6 separate regions of the Homo sapiens genome follow, and all the other regions are linked to region 1. The links are contacts of gene promoters, found by promoter capture Hi-C in blood cells and fetal thymus (Javierre and others, 2016). All regions are on one chromosome and are shown on one strand. Each heading gives the region's core, a stretch centred on a gene start or on the middle of the fragment in contact. The rest is flanking DNA. Distances are from core to core; before and after follow the strand shown. Region 1 holds the start of PTPN18 (protein tyrosine phosphatase non-receptor type 18). Region 2 holds the start of UBXN4 (UBX domain protein 4). Region 3 holds the start of R3HDM1 (R3H domain containing 1). Region 4 overlaps CLASP1 (cytoplasmic linker associated protein 1). Region 5 overlaps CLASP1 (cytoplasmic linker associated protein 1). Region 6 holds the start of SPOPL (speckle type BTB/POZ protein like).

Region 1 (3,259 bases), core at 679-3,178:
TCTTATATTGTATAATTATATATTTTACATTTATTATGCATTTCTTAGTTTCTTATATACAATGTTTCTACATGTGTGTAAATTACTTAGGTTTATAATTATCTGTTACTTTTTTTTTTTTTTTTTTTGAGATGGAGTCTCGCTCTGTTGCCCAGGCTGGACTGCAGTGGCGCGATCTCGGCTCACTGCAAGCTCCGCCTCCCGGGTTCACGCCATTCTCCTGCCTCAGCCACCCGAGTAGCTGGGACTACAGGCGCCCGCCACCACGCCCAGCTAATTTTTTGTGTGTTTAGTAGAGACGGGGTTTCACCGTGTTAGCCAGGATGGTGTGGATCTCCTGACCTCGTGATCCGCCCGCCTCGGCCTCCCAAAGTGCTGGGATTATAGGCGTGAGCCACCGTGCCCGGCCATCTGTTACATATTTTATATCTACTTATGAATTTATCAAATAACTTTGGTCATTTTATAAATTATAATCTTTGTTATATTCATTTGTTGTATTGTTTTATGCAGTTATGCAATGTTTATTGTATAAACGGTCATTTATAATACTTTTATATATTTGTCATATTTCTAAACTTGATACATGTCACCATATATCAGTTTATGCGTTTGTATGGTATGTTTCTATGTCTGGTACATAAGCGATTACACTTTAAACACGTCATCAACTGTAATGTACAGTGCCTAGCATTCTGCGTGAGCCTTCCTAATGCTGGGCTTGCACTACCTGTATTGTAACGTTTAGATTTTTTGTTTGGTTTTGTTTTGTTTGAGATGGGATCTCACTCTGTGGCCCAGGCTGGAGTGCAGTGGCACCATCTCAGCTGTGCAGTGGAACCATCTCAGCTCACTGCAACCTCTGCCTCCCAGGTTCAAGCGAGTCCCCTGTCTCTGCTCCCTAGTAGCTGGGATTACAGGCATGCGCCCATGCCCAGTTGATTTTTGTATTTTTAGTAGAGACGGGGTTTCGCTGTGTTGCCCAGGCTGGTCTCGAACTCCTGAGCTCAAGCGATCCTCCCACCTCGGCCTCCCAAAGTGCTGGGATTACAGGTGTGAGCCACCGCACCTGGCCCACGTTTAGAATCTTTATAGGCAGTGACGAACGCCCCTACGAAGTGTGCGCCCAATATGTACTAAGTGCTTTTCACCCACATCATTTAATCCTTAGACCAGTTTGGTCATTCATGTCCCCATTTCACCAAGGGAGAAGCCGAGGTCAGAGGGGCCAGGTAGACCGCCTGGACCACACGCGGATGGCCGGGACGCGGATTCGGGACGGGAAGCGGATTCGGGCCCGGACGCGGATTCGAGCCCGGCGTTCACACCCTCACCACGCCACAGCCTCCGTGTTCCTCTTCGCCCTGCTGCAGCCCCTTCCTTCCTGTGGTCACAGGGGACAGTCAGGTCGCCAGAAGCGGCGGGGCCGGGGCTGTCCAGCGCAGCAGGGCCGCCCGCCCTCCCCTGCGGCGCCCGCCCCACCTGTCCCGCCCGCAGCCAGGTTGTTCCGGGAGCGCGACGAGGACACCGGGAACGAGGGTGTGCACGGTCCGTCCCGGCCTGGCCGTGGACGTCGCGCTCCGGGGCCGGGGGGCAGAGAGTGAAGACGGAGACAGCAAGAGCGACAGAGAAGTGCTGGGGAGAGAAACACGGAGAGACCCCCCGAGGCGGGGAGACACCGGGGACACCGAGACAGAAAGGCAGAGCCCGCCGTGCGCGGAGGACAGGCGTACGCAGGGCCAGGGCCGGGGCGCGCCGCTCGCGGACCCCGTGTGCCACTCACGCTGAACTCGCCGGCGAGGACTGCCCCCTCCCGGCCGCCCCGCGCTTCCAGCCGCTCCAGGAAGCTCCGCGCCGAGTCCAGGCTGCGGCTCATGGCGCCGCGGGCCAGCAAGGTCCAGCCCGGCCGCCGCGCGCGCGGCGAGTGTGGACGCCGCGGGAGGCGGAGGCCGGTGACTGAGTCCCCGCCCTTGCCTCGGCAGCCAATGGAAGCGCGCAGCGGCGGGCAGGGCGCCCCAGCCACCGTGTTCTGAGCCCGCGTAGCCCCACCCCGGGCGCTCGGGCCGCTGTGGCCGGAGCCCTAGGTCCTCGCGGGCTGCCCTGAGCAGAGTCCAGCGCCGGCGCTTCCCCTTTTTTTCGGCTGCCGCGCCCACTGGTGGGGGGGTGGCACGGTCCCAGGTTCGCTCCCTGCCGCTTGGGACCCGCCCTCAGATCGGGATCCGCGCCCAGGGGCCGACCTCCGGGTGCCGGCTCTGGGTGGACGGCCGAGCGGTCTCGCCGGGCCCTCCCGCCCGTCCCCTGGGAGCCAGGCCGCGCGGAGTCCGAGCTGGGGCGGGCAGCAGCCTTGGGTGGAGACGGTCGCCGAGATCAGGCTGCCCCTCGTGCCAGAGGACCCCGGGTCGGGGGCGTCCCGCGCTGTGCGCTCCAGCCGGGCCCAAGGGAGGCCGGGGAGGGGCAGCCACGCCGTGGGAAAGGCCAAGTGGCAGCGGGATCTTCTCTGTGTATTTCCCGAGGAATTTGTGGTTCCTTTTTCCCGGATGCGCTGGGGCACCAGGGTCAGTCCTGTGTGAGCATCTCGACCTGCACAAGCCTGCTGGGAAACAGAACTGAGGCACTGGAAGTGGGTTCTGGGGAACGAAGAGCTTCTCTTTTTTGCCTGCCCTGACACTCCCATCTTCAGAAAGTGTGCAGAGGTCAGAGGAGAGCCGCCGTTCCAGCTTCCGGGATCACCGAGGGGAGGCTGGAGAGAATGGACTGGCACCTGGGTCTCTTCAAGGACAGGCCTAGGTTAGCCCCCTTCTCGCCGAGGTCGGAAGAATTAAGAGGGGTGTCACTGGAAGGGGCGTCAGTGGACACCAGTTTGAGGTCGTTGAGGGGTTGAAAGGTAGCATTGGGGCCTGGATGTGTGCCTGAGTCTCTGAAGGGTCAACAGGGGCATGATGTCAGGTGGTCAATTTAATTCACTAGGGGCTATCAGAGTATTTAAGGGCACACTTTCTTAAAGGTCCCGGTAGGAAGTGGTTTTGGCTTTGCTATCGCTGCCCCAGCTGCTTAACTCAGCTGTGGCAGCATGAAAGCAGACAATATAGTGTGGCTGTGTCCCAAAGAAACCATTTATGGACAAAGAAATCAGAATTTCATGTAATGTTCATGTGTCATGAATTATTCTAGTGTGTGTGTGTGGCCTACAGGCTGTCGTTTGCTGACCTTGGCTGAAGTGATGGAGCGATCAAAGTGGCTCTGTGGGGATCAGCAGCTA
Region 2 (3,768 bases), core at 937-3,436, 5.4 Mb before region 1:
ACTGGCTAAAGCTCTAAAAAAGCTAGCTGGATTTTGGAACAGGTCAAGGGACAGACAGAGACTCCTTTGTGAGATTGCTAACAGTCTTCCTGCAAACATTCAAGAGTCATTATATTCTAAATACATGTAATACATGCTCATCAGTAAAAACTTAATTGAAGAAAGTATATATATATACACAAAACCCCGAAAGGCAAGACCTATAACTTTATTTAACTATTCCAATAATTTGTACTAGAGTTTCCAAATATTAATATTTGTTAATAAAAATCTCTCGTTTCTTTTTTTAAATTAACTGATTTACCTCAAGAGTGCCTTCTAGGAATGTTTGGACATTTGTTCAAAAACATGACTACCATAATCCAAATTTCTGATTTCTATACCAATTTAAATCACCAATTTACAAATTGTTCAGTTTTTTCCTTAAGAAACAAAAAAGCCAGTTTTTTTGAAGCTACTAAAAAATTTGACTGTTAAGACATGTAAATCCTTTTTGTGGCCCTAGTGCAAGTCACTTTATGACTGCTGACCTAAGTGCCTCATCTATAAAATGGGGATAATTAAACCTGTTCTATTTACTGCAAGGATCAACTGAGATATTAGGAGAAAAACAATTTAAAATGTCAAAAACCTACTAATGTACACAATAAGCATAGTGTCATTTACTTTTCCTTTCATTTTCAATCCATTTTTTTCCTTACGGGATTACAGAATTAATTTATGTAAAGTATAATATAACCCCCAGACAGCATCACAGAATCTAAACTATTCAAGCTCTTCTAATAAACAGCATTGAGCTAAAAACTTGGCGTAACAAAACAATTATAAATTCCAAATTTAATGCTAAATGACATTCACATTTCAGTAATTCGTTCTTCACTGCAGTGCATAAAGTTATAGAGCTATTAAAAGACGAGTTAATTATGAATAAACCGTTATTAAACACAAATAGTTGAAGAAATACACCTCAAATTAACAACAGCCACAAACATTGATTTGGTCCATGTAATGAGTATGAGCAGAACCGTAGAGGCAGGGAGTTCACTGTAAATCTACAAGATTTCAGTAATAAAACAGGAGAATATGGAGCAAAATAGCCTAGAGCAACAGAGAATATATGAGTTAATAAACGTTCTCAAAGTCGTGTAGATTTTAGCCTAAGAAGACAACAAAGGGAAGAAACCAAGGACTGAACGTCTATTTTCTTTGAAACTAATGGATTTTTTTTAAACTTACATTATTTCACACTAGATCCCCTACCAAGACTGCCATAAAGAAAAATTAAACCTCTATTCAGCTCAAAAGTTTACGTTTCAGGAACGTACTAACACCAGTAACCGTGAACATCAGGTGGTTTCTCTTTGTTGCTTATCGATGACACAGCTTTCTTCCCGACAGTCCACAACTAATTACAACCCAACTGCTTGCCTAATGGCCCGTTCCTACCTCCATCTAAACAGCAGTAACGAAACGGGCGTTCAAGCAGCACAAAGAGGGTCCTTGGTGACAGAGAGGGACGTCAGGGAGAGGGTCGCGGGGGTCTGGCTGCGCAGGGGAGAGGCTCGGGGCGACGAGCGGGGCTGGGCGGCTGGGGCCTGCTGGCCGCGTCCGTCGCCCCGAGCGGGGAGATTTCGGCGGGCCTCGGGGCGCTTTGGAGACCAGGGCCAGACGGTGCCTCCGGCCCGGCTGCCGGGAGACGCAGCGGTGGGGCCAGGCCCACTGTATCTCAAACGAACCGGGGAGGCGCTGAACAGCCACGGGCCGGCAGCCCGGGCCTCGCAGACACTGAGGAAAGGCTGGGGGCGCCCGGGGCCTGAAGGAGCAGGGCGCTGAGGGTCTGCATGGCCCCTCTGGGGGATCTGGCGGCGGAGTCGCAGCCGTCCCTGGGGCGCGGGGTAGTAGTGGCAATTGTGCGAGCCGACAGGAGCCCGCGTCTCGGGGAGGGCGGGCCGGCGGCTGAGGTATACAAGAGGATGAAGGTAGGCCGGAGGGGTGTCCCGGCCGCCTCTCGAACCCCTGCCTCCTTCACCTGCCACGAACACCACGAAGACCGCGCCGCTCCTTTTGGCCGTCGCGATGGCGGCCGGAATGGCGCCCTGGAACCACAGCATCGCTCCCTTCGGGCCCAGGCGCTCGCTCGGTGTGTAGTCTCCGCAGTCCCGAAGCCGGCTCCGCCCTCCGTCTTCGTCCGGCTCTGCGGCCCCCGCAACCTTGGCTGGTTCGGCCCCCACCTCCGGCTCCGCACAAGCGCGCACGCCCGTCAGCGGCACCCGGAGACGCGCGCTAGCGCGCGCGAGAACACCTCACGTCACAGTCGCAACCCGTCGGTGTCCGTGCCCCAGGACCTTCTCTCGTTGGCGAGTCGATGGTGCGGGCGCGCGCCCGCTAGGCCTCCGGTCGCGCAGTCCAGGAAGTGGAGGAAAGCGGTAAGAGGGATGACTAACCGCTAAGACACGTCGGCGGCGCCTGCAGTGAGGCATGATGGGAATTGTAGTCCACTTAGGCTTATTCGCCTCCATATTGTGGAGCATGTAACTGTGGGTTCTGAGGCACAGCTAAAGGGGGCAGTAGTGAGGGCCACTACACATTCTATAAAGGGGAGAGGGAGAAATAAGTGTCACTCCAACTGGCATATGCTATTCTCGGCCTCGTTGAGACTCTCAGTGTGGAGGAAATAGTCCTCGCATGGAACTAAATGGGCTTTGTCGGGATTAACTCCGAGGCTTTGATTTCTTCTGAACGTAGCCCAACCTTGCAGAAAAACGGGATAAAAACCGCAAGTCACCTTCTTTAATAACCTGTAGTCCATGTGCCTAAGCGGAGGAATTGGTAGAACGCAGGCCTTCAGCAATTTCCTAGACACTGGATAGAGATCATTTCAAAACTTCAAAACGCGTTAGGCTATTGCCACAGCTACTTTTTAAAGTAACACAAAGCAGAGAATAGATTATTTCTTTTCCAGCTACTTTCCATGGTAATACAAAAGAGACTAGATAGTGATTTATTTTCCAATTTTCTGGGAGAATGTCCTATAATCAAGATGTGGCGCTTTGTGATTGGCTGCCATTAAATGAAAACTGATCCATATTTAATACTTTCATGAAATCACATGGTCTGTAATAACTATTAGCTAAAGGCTTGCATGGTTTATTTAAAGTTGCATATACTATTATGTTAAATTCTACATCAATTAAATTTATCCTCCAGCAGTACATCTATCTGACAATCTTTGCAAGATAAAGGAAGTGATACATCTGAATATACCACCTTTCCTACAGATATTTTCCCTAAAAATAGCTAATTATTTGCACTCCGATTTTTGTACTTTTTTTCCCAATCAGGCCTCTCGTATATAGTGTTATTATAAACTGAGACATAATGCTGATTAGGGACAGTTGCTTCTATAGGACAACAATCCTACAGAAAAATTAGAATTGACCTTTAACATCAACTTTAATGGACTTCTGGAAATTTGATCAATCTAGAAATTATTCCAATAGAGCTATGTCTTTAATTATCTCTAATTTTAGAATTAAATAAGAATCCTTCATAGTTTTATATTCATTTGTCAAGTGTTTATCACTCATCTTTTATGAGCTAGGCATTGTGCCTGGCACTGATAAGGAGGTGAGGCAGTCAGAAGAAGGCCCTGTCTTTGTGACTGTACAGTCTAGTCAGGAAGACAGACATTGAATAAGTAATTATGAGTGATGATAAATGTCACAGAAGGGTAATTCAGAGTGCTACAGAAGTGTATGAGGATGGGAC
Region 3 (3,349 bases), core at 566-3,065, 5.2 Mb before region 1:
GTATTTATTTCTTTATTTTTTTGAGACCATGTTCTGCTATATTGCCTAGGCTGGCCTTGAACTCCTGGGCTCAAGTGATCCTCTCACCTCACACTCCTGAGTAGCAGGGACTACAGGTGACTACTACATGACTGGCAATTTTCATTTTTTTAATAGATACCACAAATTTCCTCCAGGACCTGAATGTATCTATGTCAATTCTGTAACTAGGTGTACTAGTTATGGAATACAGAAGATCATTAAGCCACCATAGTCTTCTCAAACCCTGAAGAAATGATCAAAACTCAGATGTTTCCTCAGAACCCAAGTTTATTCTGCTAACAAGTAAACCTCAGAAATGGGCCTAGAATTTTATCTCTGATCACAGTTATGTCTACTACAGACTATAGAATCCATGATTTAAAGACATATTCTTCCAGGCATAAAAGCAGAGTGGTATTTGAAAAGACGAGCGTACTCCATCAAAATGTGATGAAGAAATCATAACAGAATGCCCTAAAAATAGCCAAATATGCCAAATTTTTAGAAATTGAGACGTGTCCAATTATTCCTGTCAGACTGGTATCCTATTACTTAGAAGATCTTGTTTCACATATTATAAATGGGTAGACTTTCAGTTTGACTTTAATCATCTTTTCATTTAAAAGTTTTTGTCATCAATGATATTTAAGCTAAAAAAGGTTTCTTACAGTTACAATTAGGTAAACTATAACCATGAAGATATATATATATATATTTAGAAAATTTTATTAGAAAAACCATTTGCTGTTCACTAATCCTAATTTGGAAAGCACCTCTTCTTCACCTTTTACTTAACTATCCCAGGACAATTACACACGGAGCATGATAGTCCCAATAATTTAAGTTTCTTTATAAAAACAAGCTCAACAGAGTCACCCTTTGCACCTAGTCACAGCAACAAAAGAAAACAAAACACCAAAAAACTTCAAAGCCCACAAAGATTTGTTGGCAGCCTAAGGCTCAGGAATCAAAACGTGTGTAAATCTGATCCCGGGGGACCGTGGCACTGACAGTCATTCAACTTTCTTTTTAATATTCCCATTGTGCTTTTTCTGGTACCACAGGGAAAATGTACCTACATTTTACCAACCGGTCGAAGCTGAAAATTCTCTTGGTGCAAGGCCAGGGGATGCGGCCGTGGGGCGGCCGGGGGAGCCCGGGGCACCGGCGCCAGCCACACGAGAGAGCAGTACCACGCTCTTGGCAGGCCTGCTGTGGCTGGCTCCCGAGTCCCTGGGGCTGCAAGAGCAGCCGCGGAGGCAGCAGCAGCAGCCATGGCAGGGACTCGGAAACCTTTCCCCTGCCTCCTCCGCTAGGCCTCGAGGGGTTTGCTTTTCACATGGCCCCCGGGTGGGGGCGGTGGGCACAAGGCAGTGGCTGCAGCTGCAGCCGGAGCCGCAGCCGCGGGCCAGGCGAGCCTGGCTCACTCGGAACCCGACCTAACGGCGGGCTGGCAGCAGCGGGACGTCAGAAGGCCCTGGCTGAAGCGCCGACGACCCGGCGGGGAAGGCCACCTTTCCACACACCACATCTCTCCCCTGCCTGCCTCCTTCTCCGTTAGCGCTACCGGTTGGCGGGCGGGGGAGGGGAGCAAGGCGCGTTATTCCCGGGGAGCTGGACGGGGGAGGGAAGGGCATCTCTTACCCGCGTTACTGAGGAGGAGGAGGCGGTTGGAGCGCGGCGCGGCGGGGCGACGGCGGGGCTGGGTGGGTGCAAGTAAGAGTCTTACGAAAGGGAATTAACCCCATCACCAGCCCGGACACCGGCTCCAGCGGCAGCCGCGGCTGGCAGAATCCCGCCCCTTCCCACCACGCACTAGCCCCGCCTCTTCGTTCTCTTTGAGCGGCAGCCGACTATTCATAGGTTGTACGTCCCCGGAGTGACATGAGTTTTGCCCAATCAAGCTTGAAAAAAACTGTCTTCTCTCCACCCCTTTACCTCCTCCCAGGCCGCGGAGAGCCGTGCCAAATCTTCCTCCAACCTCAAGAGAAAAAGAACCAATCCGTGGTAAGTAACCGCCCTTGAAGGACGCAAAAGCCAACCAATGGTAAAACTAGGAGGACAGCCATTTTGCCCACTTGTAAAAGAGCTACCTTTTCCCACGAGTTGGAGCCTGAGGTGCGGAGTTTCGTGAGTTTTTACTGACTCGAGGTATTTAAAAGACAACCAGATCTCCTCAGTGGGTATTTATAGTGCTTTTTAGGGGTAAAGGAAAATTATCCTCCATGTGGGGCGAAGTGAGGCATGCTGCTTAAGGGGTTGGCTCCTCCCCTTAGCGCTAACGGGTTCTGAAACGAACACCTGGTTTCTCCAGCTTCAGTGGCGGAGGGCGGGGTGATTGCTCTTTTCGGCCTGGAGCGGACTACGATTCCCAACATGCTTTTCCCCTACTCATAACTTCTCCTCCGTTCACTTGTCGCGGTGCTTGGCTGGAATTGTAGTTCCTGAGAGGTACCCATGCCGCCGCTTCAGCCAATGAAAAGGGACAGAGTTTTGAATGACTTGAAATTAGGGCGGAGAACGAGTTGTCGCGAGGCTGTACAGAGCCCTTTTCGCAACCCTAACGGGAGAGAAGTGATGGAAGAAGGGTAGCCGGAAGAGTTTCCTCAAAATACCATAGGGGTTTTAAATTATTAGTACGTATTTAAACTCATCTACTTTCACGTTGTCCCGTTGAACGTCACTTCCGCTTAGGGGCGGACACGTCCCAAACCTGTGGCGGGAGTTGGAGATTCTGCGGCGAATACGCCAGGTGTGACTGGCTGGAAGTGGCGTGGCTGGCAAGTCGCTAGTTTCTTGCATGGGAGATAAAAAGTTGAACGGAATTTAATGGCATTTTAAGAAAGAGTGGGTGACATGGGATGGGGGTAATTTCCAGGGCCCTTATTACTTTCTCCACCCCGGCCTTCAATCGCGGGCGTCTCGGCCTGCTCGCTATTAGATTGCACGGCTAAATTTGTAGAAAGTACCTCTACTGCCTTTAGTCTTCGCGTGGTCAGTTTGAACTGTAAAGACAGGGCTCCGAAGTTCTGAACTACATTTACAGACACACTTTTTTTTTTTTTTTTTGAGACGGAGTCTTGCTCTGTCCCCAGGCTGGAGTGCAGTGGTGGGATCTTGGCTCACTGATTCACGCCATTCTCCTGTCTCAGCCTCCGGAGTAGCTGGGATTACAGGCGCGCGCCACTCAGCCCAGCTAATTTTTTGTATTTTTAGTAGAGACGGGGTTTCACCATGTTGGCCAGGATGGTCTCGATCTCCTGACCTCGTGATCCGCCCACCTTGGCCTCCCAAAGTGCTGGGATTACAGGCGTGAGCCACCGCGCCC
Region 4 (3,688 bases), core at 1,139-3,638, 8.7 Mb after region 1:
TCTATTATAAACTTTTTTTTGAACAGGTAATATATACACATGAATTAAAAATTTAAGTTTCTCTCCTAGCTTGTCTGCCATCCACCCAATTTCTTTCCCTGGAGTCACCAATGTTATTAATTATATTCATGAAAAAAAGCCTATATATATATATATATATATGCACACACATACATATATATACACACACACACACACACACACCTCCCTCTGTTTTTGTACAGTTCGTGGCTGATTATAGACTACTTTTGCATTTTGCTTTTTTTTTTTTCTGAGATGGAGTTTCACTCTTGCTGCCCAGGCTAGAGTGCAATGGCGCAATCTTGGCTCACCGCAACCTCCACCTCCCAGGTTCAAGTGATTCTCCTGTCTCAGTCTCCCTAGTAGCTAGGATTACAGGCATGTGCCACCATGCCTGGCTAATTTTGTATTTTTAGTAGAGACGAGGTTTCTGCATGCTGGTCAGGCTAGTCTTGAATTCCTGACCTCAGGTGATCTGCCAACCTCGGCCTCTCAAAGTGTTGGGTTTACAGGCATGAGCCACCGCGTCCAGCGCATTTTACTTTTTTTAAACTTCATGTATCTTGGAAATCATTCTATGTGAGTACATTGAAGACTTCCTCCTTTTTTTTTTTAAATGAGTTGTATGACTAAATAGTATGCTGTTGCATGGCATATCATGATTTCCTGAGTCCTCTATTGATGAACATTTAGTTTTATCTAATCTTTTGCTTTTATAAACAATGCTGCAAAGAATAATTCTATAATATATTATTTTTGCACATATATGAATAAATTCCCAGAAGTTGACATTTTGGGTTAAAAGTTACGTGCCTTAACATTGCTATAAATAGATATTCCCAGATTATTCACGTTGGAGGTTTTGATGAAATCCAGCCTGCAATACAAGATACATTTTTGTTTGTTTTTTGAGACAAAGCTCTGTCGCCCAGGCTAGAGTACAGTGGCACAATCTCAGCTCACTGCAACCTCTGCCTCCCAGGCTCCAACCATCCTCCCATCTCAGCCTTCCAGGTAGCTGGGACTACAGGTGCATACTACCATGCCTGGCTGATTTTTGTATTTATTTTATTTATTTATTTTATTTTATTTTATTTGTTTTGAGATGGGGTCTTGCTCTGTTGCCTGGGCTGGAGTGCAGTGGCGTGATCTCGGCTCACTACAGCCTCCGCCTCCTGGGTTCAAGCAGTTCTCCCACCTCAGCCTCCCGAGTAGCTGGGATTACATGGGCACGCCACCACGCCCAGCTAATTTTTGCATTTTTACTAGAGACGGGGTTTCACCATGTTGACCAGGCTGGTCTCGAACTGTTGACCTCAGGTGACCCACCCACCTCAGCCTCTCAAAGTGCTGGGATTACAGGTGTGACCCACTGCGCCTGGCCCGATTTTTGTATTTTTTGTAGAGATGGGGTCTCACTATGTTGCCCAGGCTGTTCTCAAACTCATGAGCTCAAGCGATCCTCCCACCTTGGCCTCCCAAAGTGCTGGGATTACAGGTGTGAGCCACTGTGCCTGGCCTGCAATATGTATTTTAAAAATATGTTTAAAAAATGTAATTTCAGGCCGGGCTTGGTGGCTTACGCCTGTAATCCCAGCACTTTGGGAGGTCGAGGTGGGCAGATCACGAGGTCAAGAGATCGAGACCATCCTGGTCAACATGGTGAAACCTCGTCTTTACTAAAAATACAAAAATTAGCTGGGCCTGGTGGTGTGTGCCTGTAGTCCCAGCTATTCGGGAGGCTGAGGCAGGAGAATTGCTTGAATCTAGGAGGCGGAAGTTGCAGTGAGCCAAGATCGTACCAGTGCACTCCAGCATGGTGACAGAGCGAGACTCCATTTCAAAAAAAAAAAAAAAAAAAGTAATTTTAAAATGGCGTAGAAACATGTCATGTGTCATTTTTTGAATTAAAATATGACTATAGTTCAGTGATCAAAAGCAAATTGAGCACTTTTCTTCTCATTTCTTTTTTTTTTTTTTTTTTTTTTTTGAGCTGGAGTCTCGCTTTGTCACCCAGGCTGGAGCGTAATGGCGCAATCTCGGCTCACTGCAACCTCCACCTCCCGGGTTCATGCCATTCTCCTGCCTCAGTCTCCCGAGTAGCTGGGACTATGGGCGCCTGCCACCACACCCGGCTAATTTTTTGTATTTTTAGTAGAGATGGGGTTTCACCATGTTAGCCAGGATGGTCTTGATCTCCTGACCTTGTGATCCACCCACCTCGGCCTCCCAAAGTGCTGGGATTACAGGCGTGAGCCACTGCGCCCGGCCTCTTTTTTTTTTTTTTTGAGACGTAGTTTCGCTCTTGTTGTCCAGGCTGGAGTGCAATGGCTAGATCTTGGCTCACTGCAACCTCTGCTGGGTTCAAGCGATTCTCCTGCCTCAGCCTTTTGAGTAGCTGGGATTACAGGCATCCACCACCATGCCCGGCTAATTTTTTTATTTTCAGTAGAGACAGAGTTTTGCCATGTTGGCCAGGCTGGTCTCAAACTCCTGACCTCAGGCAATCCACCCACCTTGGCCTCCCAAAGTGCTGGGATTATAGGCGTGAGCCACCATGCCCGGCCTCTTCTCATTTCTTGTTTGCTTTTCTCTTTTGACTTGGCAAGAATTTTGTGACTGGACGAGGCAGGAATAAGTTTTGTTTCCTTGTAGATGTTACCAATACTGCCTTCTAGAGATGGGTACTAGATACAGAAGATTTACTGAATAATTGCTTCTGCGTGTGTGTGTGTGTGTGTGTGTGTGTGTGTGTGTGTGTGTGTGTTTCTTTCCAATATGGTGATCTACCAAACTTTCTGTAGTTTTCAATACTTGTAGTAATGGATGATGATTGTGATATCAGGATTACAATTTGATTTAACTTTAAAAACAACTTTCTGGAATTTATTGGATAGAGTATGATTTAACTAGAAAGAATAGGAATAGAGGCTGGGCGTGGTGGCTCACGCCTGTAATCCCAGCAGTTTGGGAGGCGGAGGCGGGTGGATCGCTTGAGGTCAGGAGTTTGAGACCAGCCTGGCCAACATGGTGAAATCCTGTCTCTACTAAAAATGTAAAGTTAGCTGGGCATGGTAGTGCACACCTGTAATCCCAGCTACTCAGGAGGCTGAGGCAGGAGAATAGCTTGAACCTGGGAGGCGAAGGTTGCAGTGAGCGAAGATTGCATCACTGCAGTCCAGCCTGGGTGACAGAGCAAGACTCCATCTCAATAAAAAAAGGGAAAACATAGTATTAACATTTTAGTGTGTTCCCTTCCATACGTTTTCTATGCAAGATGCATATAAAAAAAAGTTTTTATTTTATAAACAAAAATGGCATCATTTTTGTTTTCTAGTTTGCTTTTTTATTTTTTTTGAGATGGAGTTTCGCTCTTGTCGCCCAGGCTAGAGTGCAGTGGTGTGATCTTGGCTCACTGCAACCTCTGTCTCCCAGGTTCAAGTGATTCTCCTGCCTCAGTCTCTCAAGTACGTGGGATTACAGGTGCCTGCCACCATGCCCAGCTAATTTTTGTATTTTTAGTAGACATGGGGTTTCACCATGTTGGCCAGGCTGGTCTCAAATTCCTGACCTCAGGTGATCCACTGGCTTCGGCCTCCCAAAGTGCTGGGATTACCGGCGTGAGCCACCGCTCCCGGCCTAGTTTGCTTTTCTAATTGTTTTCTAG
Region 5 (3,444 bases), core at 453-2,952, 8.8 Mb after region 1:
ATTCCACATAATGCCTTCAAGGTTCATCCATGTTGTAGTGTTTCAGAAAAGGCCTAAAGTTCCATTGTATGGGTAGACCAGGAGACTCCATTTTGTATATCCATTCATCTGTCAATCAACACTTCAGTTGTTTCCACCTTTTTACTCCTGTAGATAATGATGCTGTGAATATGGGTTTACAACTGTCTTTGGAAACTCTGCTTTTACTTCTTTTGGGTATATGCCCAGAAATGGAATTGCTGGAATCATATGGTAATATTATTTTTAATCTTTTTTTTTTTTTTTTTTTTTTTTCAGACAGTCTTGCTCTGTCGCCCAGGCTGGAGTGCAGTGGCACAATCTCGGCTCACTGCAAGCTCCGCCTCCCAGGTTCATGCGATTCTCCTGCCTCAGCCTCCCGAGTAGCTGGGACTACAGGTGCCCGTCACAACGCCCGGCTAATTTTTTGTATTTTTACTAGAGACGGGGTTTCACTGTGTTAGCCAGGATGGTCTCGATCTCCTGACTTCGTGATCTGCCCACCTCGGCCTCCCAAAGTGCTGGGATTACAGGCGTGAGCCACTGTGCCCAGCCCTAATCTTTTTTGAGGAACTGCTATAACCATTTTCCACAACAACTCTACCATTTTACACTTCACCAGCAGTATACAAGAGTTCCAGTTTCTCTACATCTTTACCAACAGTATTTATTTTTTATTTTTTAATAAAATAGGGCTGGGTGCAGTGGCTCATGCCTGTAATCCCAGCACTCTGGGAGGCCAACACAGTCGGATCGCTTGAGTCCAGAAGTTCAAGACCAGCCTGGGCAACATGGCAAAACCTCTCCTCTACAAAAGCTCAAAAAATTAGCTGGGTGGTGTGTTGGCACGCGCCTGTAGTCCCAGCTACTGGGGAGGGGGCAGGTTGCTGAGGCGGGAGGATCACTTGAAGCTGGGAGATGGAGGTTGCAGTGAGCCGAAATCACGCAACTACACTCCAGCCTGGGTGACAGAGCATGATCCTATCTCCAAAAAAAAAAAAAATTCTAATGAATGTCAGCCGTTACTTTTTACCTATTGTCTCTCATTTCTTCTTTTTAAATTCCATTTAAACTTGATGTTTTCTCTCTATTCTCTCTTGCCTATTCTTTTGAATATTCCATCTTTTTGCTTCTCTTTACTTTATTCTGGATTTTTTCTGCAGACTTAGTTTCCTGTTTAGTTCTCTTCATGTATTTACAGTGCACTTAGGAAAAAGAGCCCATGCATTGAGTATTTAATTTTCTCTTGTATTATTTGTTTAACCTATGTAACTTTAAAAGTTGTCATTTCTCTACCCAAAACTTTAATCATGTGTTTTTTCTTCTTAGACATAATAAGACTGGTTATTTAATTTAATTAATTTATTTATTGAGACAAGGTGTCTCTCTGTCACCCAGGCTGGAGTGCAGTGGCACGATCTCCACTCGCTGCAACTTCCGCCTCCCAGGCTCAAGTGATCCTCCCACCTCAGCCTCCCGAGCAGAGCAGCTGGGACCACAGGTGCATGCCACCACGCCCAGCTAAGTTTTGTATTTTTTCGTAGAGGTGGCATTTCGCCACGTTGCCCAGGCTAGTCTTGAACTCCTAAGCTAAGGCAATCCGCCTGCCTCTGCCTGCCTTGGCCTCCCAAAGTGCTGGGATTACAGGCGTGAGACACCACACTCGGCCTGACTTGTTATTTTAAAGTCCGTTTGCAATTATTCTCCTATCCAGGGACCCAGAGTCCAGGTTGGTCTTTGTTTCTGCTAGTTTTCACTTTGTCCTGTGTGACTGGTTATCTTTGGTTGTGTTTCAGATGTTCTCTTTGAAAAATTGTTACAGGAATAGGCCAGGCACAATGGCTCAACGTCAGTAATCCCAGCACTTTGGGAGCTGAGGCAGGCAGATTGCTTGAGGTCAGGAGTTCAAGAACAGTCTGTCCAACATGATAAAACCCCGTCTCTACTAAAAATACAAAAATTAGCTGGGCTGATAACACGTCCCAGCTACTTGGGAGGCTGAAGCACGAGAATCTCTTGAACCCGGGAGGCGGAGGTTGCAGTGAGCAGAGATCGTGCCATTGCACTCCAGCCTGGGCAACAGAGCGAGACTCTGTCTCAAAAAAACAAACAACAACAACAACAAAAGAAAATTTTTACAGGAATAATCCGAGGACTAGATTATTAGGATGATGTTTTCTTTATCCAGAAATGACTTGTGTTTTTATCTGCTCAGGGCTTTTGGGCACAAACAGTCTAACCTCACTTTAATCTGATGTCAGGGATTAGGATTTTTCTGGGCCACCCAGATGCTTGGAAACTGGGCTGCAGTCCCTGTGAAGGCTGTTTTATTTCCAACTCACTCTCCTCCTAAAGTCTAGCCATTTGGGTTTCCAGCACATGTGGTAGGGGGTTAACTAGGTCACCAACTTTGGAGGGCTTTGGAATCTAACCTTTGCCCTCCTAGATGACCCAAGAGGTTATTAAAAGTGATTCTCTGTGCCCTTTCCCAGTGTATAAATGGCCCCAGGGCAAAGTGAACCAGTTGTTGCAGGCTTATATCTGTAAATTTTGGTTGTCTCTGTTTCTTGACCTGGAAGTTCTTCTGTGCCTTCTTAGTTCTCTGATGCTGCAGGTGTCCTTTTATGTCCAGCATTTTTTAGTTGTGCTCGGCAGGAGTGTTGGTCCCAGTGACCTGGTCAGCCCTCTTCTCTCTTTTACAAAAGAGTCTTTTAAAGGTTTGTAGGATAAAGAAGATGTGTTGGACCTTGAGAACTCATCTATTCCAGTCTCATTCACATCAATACAGTAGGGTTTATTGATCACCTACCGTGTACCCAGCATTGTGCTACTTATTATGGGAATTCTGAGGAAATGCAAGATGATAGTATTCCTTACATTCAAGGAGTGTAGCTGGGGAAACAAGCACAAACGTAGATAATTAAGTAAAATGTCAGAGTCAAGGGTCACGCAGAGTTAATGGTGTTGGAAGAAAAAAATTACAACAAATTTAAAGATTTTGATTGACTTTTATTCGTGACTTTAGAATCAGGTAACACCTCATTCCATAAAACAGAATTGTGTATTCCAGTGAGCCATGCAGAAGAAGTTGGTTTTATAAACCTAAGGGCTGAAGAAAGCAGAAATAGGGGGAAAAAAAAAGTACCCTTACCACGTGCCAGGCACAGTTTACATACACACTTTATTTAACCCTCACAACAACCCACGAGGCAGCTGTTATTATTGTCCATGTTTTACAGATGAGGAGGTTAGGCACAAAGAGGTTTTTATAGTTAATTATCAGAGTGGTCTTCTGGGCAAGGACTTTTTCATGTATCCCTTTCTTCAGTAGGGAAATGGAAACCCAGGAGAAGGGCCTGAGCTGTGAAAGTGCCTGGAACTGCCTTCTGTCCTCCTGGCTGACACCCTGGACCTCTCCTGTCCTAT
Region 6 (3,256 bases), core at 585-3,084, 8.1 Mb before region 1:
GTAGTTTTCAAATCAGAAGGAATTAATTTATACAATAACAAATTATACATGCTATCTATATCAAAAAAGGTTGTTAAATGTCAAAGAATAAGAAAGTAGCTTTCCATTCCCACCTTCCTGTCTTAGAATTAATCTACCCACAAGCCAGATCAAGTCAAACCAAGAAGTGATGATAGCATTTATCAGATATTTGCCCTGTGCCAGGTACTGTTTTAAGTACTTTACTTGTATTTACTTGTGCAATTACTAGCACCATCCTGTGATGTCATATCATAACCCCATTTTACAGCTGTAAGTATACTGAGGCGAAGAAATATTAAGTAACTTCCCCAAAGCCAAAGCTGGTAGATGGCAGAGCAAGGGTTTACACCCTGGCAACTATATACTAGTCTGAGCTCTAGAGAAGAGTTCTTAACCACTAGGCAACATTTCTCACAAGAATGATGAAATGGTAATTTGAAATATTCCACCAATCTCATCGTGGCAGGAGAGATGTAATTTTTCAAGGTATGAACCTTTTACCTCTGTCAGTTTCTAGTCCAAGAAACAGTGGATTCAATTGCAAGTGGGAAAGTGAGTACCACAATGGGTCAAACTAGGCCCAAGATTATTCAAAAATAGACAAAGCATCAGAAGCCTGGAAAGAATCACTGAATGACAGAGTTCAGTCAGGAAAGAGACAAGCGAAAGTTAGGATAAGCAGATGGTGAATCTTATTTCTACTGGGTTGTGTGACTGCTTTGAGAGAGAAAATGCTACCTTCCCTTTTCTTTTATGTTGAATCAATATACAAATACATTGACTCAAAAAGAATTAGGAAAAAGGAGAGCAGCAGGAATACAAGTGGGCTCTTTGAAGACTTGGACCCCGAACCGCGCGGTTAGCTTGATGTACTCTGGTATAAGTGAGCAAAAATGTATTAGAAAGCAGGTTAAAGAGAGGTTAAAGGCATGACCACCGGACTGGAGGTAGTGAGCGGTCTGCGAAGCTGAGAACTCTGCCTAAAATGGGCTAACAGGGACGAGAGTTTCAAGTGTCTGTATTTGGGATGAGGAGGTATGAAAGTGGACGCTGCGCGGTGGCAGAGCATGCAGTTTCTGCCTTTGGGCAGCACTCAGGTAAAAAGGGGCAGGTGTGGAGGTATACAGGTATAGAGGAGGAGAGAAGCCAGAGGAAAAGAAGGGGCGAGGCCCGGGGGTAAAACTAAAGGGGATCCTGGAAGGTGGAGGCTGGGAAATCAAGGAGGGATTGGGGGCAACCCCGGGGAAAGTGGTGCCGCCGCGCGAGGGAAGGGCGGTCCGGGGGCGTGGGAGGTAGTCCCCAGAGCAGGCCGGAGCTCGCCGCCCGAGCAGGGGTCCGGGACCCAGAGAGCAGAGGGCGCAGTGAGGCGCGAGCAGGAGGCCGCCGGTCTACGGAGAGCCGGGGGAGGGGAGCAAGCGCCTGGGGCTGCCGCGGGGACTGGGGGGAGGGGAAGGGGCGCCTACCTGGACGTGCTGGGCGGCAGCGGTCAGTCCTGGTGGAGACTCCTCTCCCGCTGAGGCGGTGGCCGTGTCCGCCCTGGGAGCCCGAGGCTGCGGTGGTGGCAGCAGGGGTGATGGCGGCAAGTCCCTGTGGCGGCCGCCTCCGCCGAACCGCATCCCTCCTCCCCGACCCGCCCTCCTTCCCTATCTCCCGCTCCTAAACTTCTTCCCCGGGATAAACAAACCCGCCGCCAGGGGCGGCCACCTCCGCCACTCCCGCCCCCGCGCAGCCCCCACCCCCCCGCCGCGGGCCCGTCTGGGCTCCGGCTTCCGAGTTACGACTCCAGCCCCGGCTCCAGCCCGCGAGGGCGCGTGCGCGCGGCGGCGGCGGCGGCGGCTCCTGGGCCCTTGCTCCCTCCTACAGCGCCGGGCACTTCCGGGCGGGCCCGGATTTGCCGCCGCGCTTGGGAAGCCGCCACCGCCGCCGCTGCTGCATGGCACTAGGCTCCCGGCGGGGCAGGTTCCGCAGCCGGCACCGCTCTGGCTAGGCGCACGGAGGCGCCTTGCTTAGTCTGACCCTTATTTGGCCAGGCGTAAAACTTGTCCTGCCTAAAAGCCTACTGAGACCTCCTAACTGGTCTAATCCGCGGGAGACGCCAAAGGCGGCGGCCGTTTGTGCGCACAGGATTTTTCTTGGAGCTGTAGCAGTCTAGGAAGCCAGGGTGGAACTTTTGCTAAGCTCCCGTTGTAAGCCCAGAGCTGTAATAACTGCTGAGACACAACCAGCAGTATACAGGCTCCAGTTGGAAATCGAGAACTTTCCAGGTAGATGAAGTGCCCCATGGAGCAGTTTTCAGGTGGAGGGGATGAGGCTCAGCTGGAAGTCTCAGGCCAGAAGGAGAGGCTGCCGAGGGGCGGCCAGGGATGCCTAGGAAGTGAGCGCAGAAGACCAGGCGGCCTCCTGGGACCGCACGGTGGGAAATAAAGCTGCACCTGCACAAATGTGTGAAGAGAGGATGGGATTGCCTTGTCTCTTCGGACATTTAGTTTAAAAAGGGGGTGACAACTGAACTTTTTATTCCCCACGGCCATGGGACAAAGATACTTAATCGAGCTACCAGGAGTAAACTTCTTTAAAGAAGTTTGGGGGACCAACAATCCCGGCTTTGCCAGAACAGACATGAACGTCATTCAAGGATCCCAACTCTTTTTGCTTTAACTGTGCATACGTCAGCAATTTTTGTTTTGTTTTGTTTTTGACAGGGCTGTCACCCAGGCTGGAGTGCAGTGGTGCCATCACAGCTCACTGCAGCCTCGACCTCCTAGGCTAAAGTGATCCTCCCAACTCAGCCTCCCGTAGCTGGGACTACAGGAATGTGCCACGCCCAGGTAATCTTAATTTTTTGTGGAGACGAGGTCTTGCTATGTGGCCCAAGCAGATCTCGAACTCCTGAGCTCAAGGGATCCTCCCACCTTGGTCTCCCAAAGTGCTGGGATTTGCAGGCGTGAACCACCACACCTGGCCATAAACCAACTTCTCATTGCTTACCTGGCTTTCCAAGAAAAGAGAGAGGGCAGAGGGAAAATATTTATTATTTTGCTATGTACTGAGTATTCTAAGCATGGACTTGTATCGTCTCTGTTCTCTCAACAACCTCTCTAAAACTTCAACGTAGAAATTTCCATCTTAAAATTAAGCGACAAGAACTAGAAATGGCAAGTAATTCATCCAGAGGTTACTGGGATTTGAATACTGGACAGGCAGATCCCCCTCATTTCAAATTAATACTACATTA

What was found. Contacts are between HindIII fragments. The CHiCAGO score rates a contact against its expected background, and 5 or more counts as called.
Region 2: the fragment with the promoter of UBXN4 here is called in contact with the fragment with the promoter of PTPN18 in region 1 in 1 of 17 cell types (neutrophils); the score reaches 8.8 in neutrophils.
Region 3: a contact is called between the fragment with the promoter of R3HDM1 here and the fragment with the promoter of PTPN18 in region 1, in 2 of 17 cell types (neutrophils and activated CD4 T cells). The highest score is 6.1, in neutrophils.
Region 4: a fragment that was not itself captured here is called in contact with the fragment with the promoter of PTPN18 in region 1 in 1 of 17 cell types (neutrophils); the score reaches 6.6 in neutrophils.
Region 5: a fragment that was not itself captured here is called in contact with the fragment with the promoter of PTPN18 in region 1 in 1 of 17 cell types (total B cells); the score reaches 5.7 in total B cells.
Region 6: the fragment with the promoter of SPOPL here is called in contact with the fragment with the promoter of PTPN18 in region 1 in 2 of 17 cell types (neutrophils and monocytes); the score reaches 10.0 in neutrophils.

What each region holds. Positions count from the first base shown.
Region 1 is chr2:130,354,725-130,357,983 of GRCh38, reverse strand. PTPN18 (protein tyrosine phosphatase non-receptor type 18) reads right to left here and starts at 1,928. Exons shown (of 15, transcript NM_014369.4): 1 at 1,784-1,928. The coding sequence starts at 1,876. RefSeq lists silencers at 1,489-1,538, 1,679-2,348. The HindIII fragment of the contact is 15,291 bases long and covers 1-3,259 here.
Region 2 is chr2:135,740,273-135,744,040 of GRCh38, reverse strand. UBXN4 (UBX domain protein 4) reads right to left here and starts at 2,186. Exons shown (of 13, transcript NM_014607.4): 1 at 2,030-2,186. The coding sequence starts at 2,111. LOC107985946 (a long non-coding RNA gene) reads left to right here and starts at 1,397. Exons shown (of 1, transcript NR_163478.1): 1 at 1,397-3,212. RefSeq lists a silencer at 1,599-1,648 and enhancers at 945-1,720, 2,049-2,108, 2,439-2,568. The HindIII fragment of the contact is 10,462 bases long and covers 1-3,768 here.
Region 3 is chr2:135,529,950-135,533,298 of GRCh38, reverse strand. It overlaps R3HDM1 (R3H domain containing 1), which reads right to left and starts at 1,815. Exons shown (of 27, transcript NM_001378107.1): 1 at 1,666-1,815. It overlaps ZRANB3 (zinc finger RANBP2-type containing 3), which reads left to right and starts at 2,081. Exons shown (of 21, transcript NM_032143.4): 1 at 2,081-2,172. RefSeq lists a silencer at 1,649-1,838 and enhancers at 1,806-2,100, 2,069-2,338, 2,689-2,768. The HindIII fragment of the contact is 3,394 bases long and covers 1-1,927 here.
Region 4 is chr2:121,629,482-121,633,169 of GRCh38, reverse strand. All of the region lies in intron 1 of CLASP1 (cytoplasmic linker associated protein 1), which reads left to right. Among named protein-coding and RNA genes, the nearest start is that of CLASP1, 18 kb to the left of the region's middle. The HindIII fragment of the contact is 7,742 bases long and covers 1-3,688 here.
Region 5 is chr2:121,533,229-121,536,672 of GRCh38, reverse strand. The region is part of intron 2 of CLASP1 (cytoplasmic linker associated protein 1); the gene reads left to right. CLASP1-AS1 (CLASP1 antisense RNA 1) reads right to left here. Exons shown (of 2, transcript XR_001739683.2): 2 at 3,007-3,444. Among named protein-coding and RNA genes, the nearest start is that of RNU4ATAC, 4.1 kb to the right of the region's middle. The HindIII fragment of the contact is 4,052 bases long and covers 1-3,444 here.
Region 6 is chr2:138,500,348-138,503,603 of GRCh38, reverse strand. It overlaps SPOPL (speckle type BTB/POZ protein like), which reads right to left and starts at 1,834. Exons shown (of 11, transcript NM_001001664.3): 1 at 1,485-1,834. It overlaps SPOPL-DT (SPOPL divergent transcript), which reads left to right and starts at 1,909. Exons shown (of 2, transcript NR_187149.1): 1 at 1,909-2,285; 2 at 2,724-3,256. RefSeq lists silencers at 1,149-1,198, 1,399-1,938. The HindIII fragment of the contact is 5,215 bases long and covers 1-3,256 here.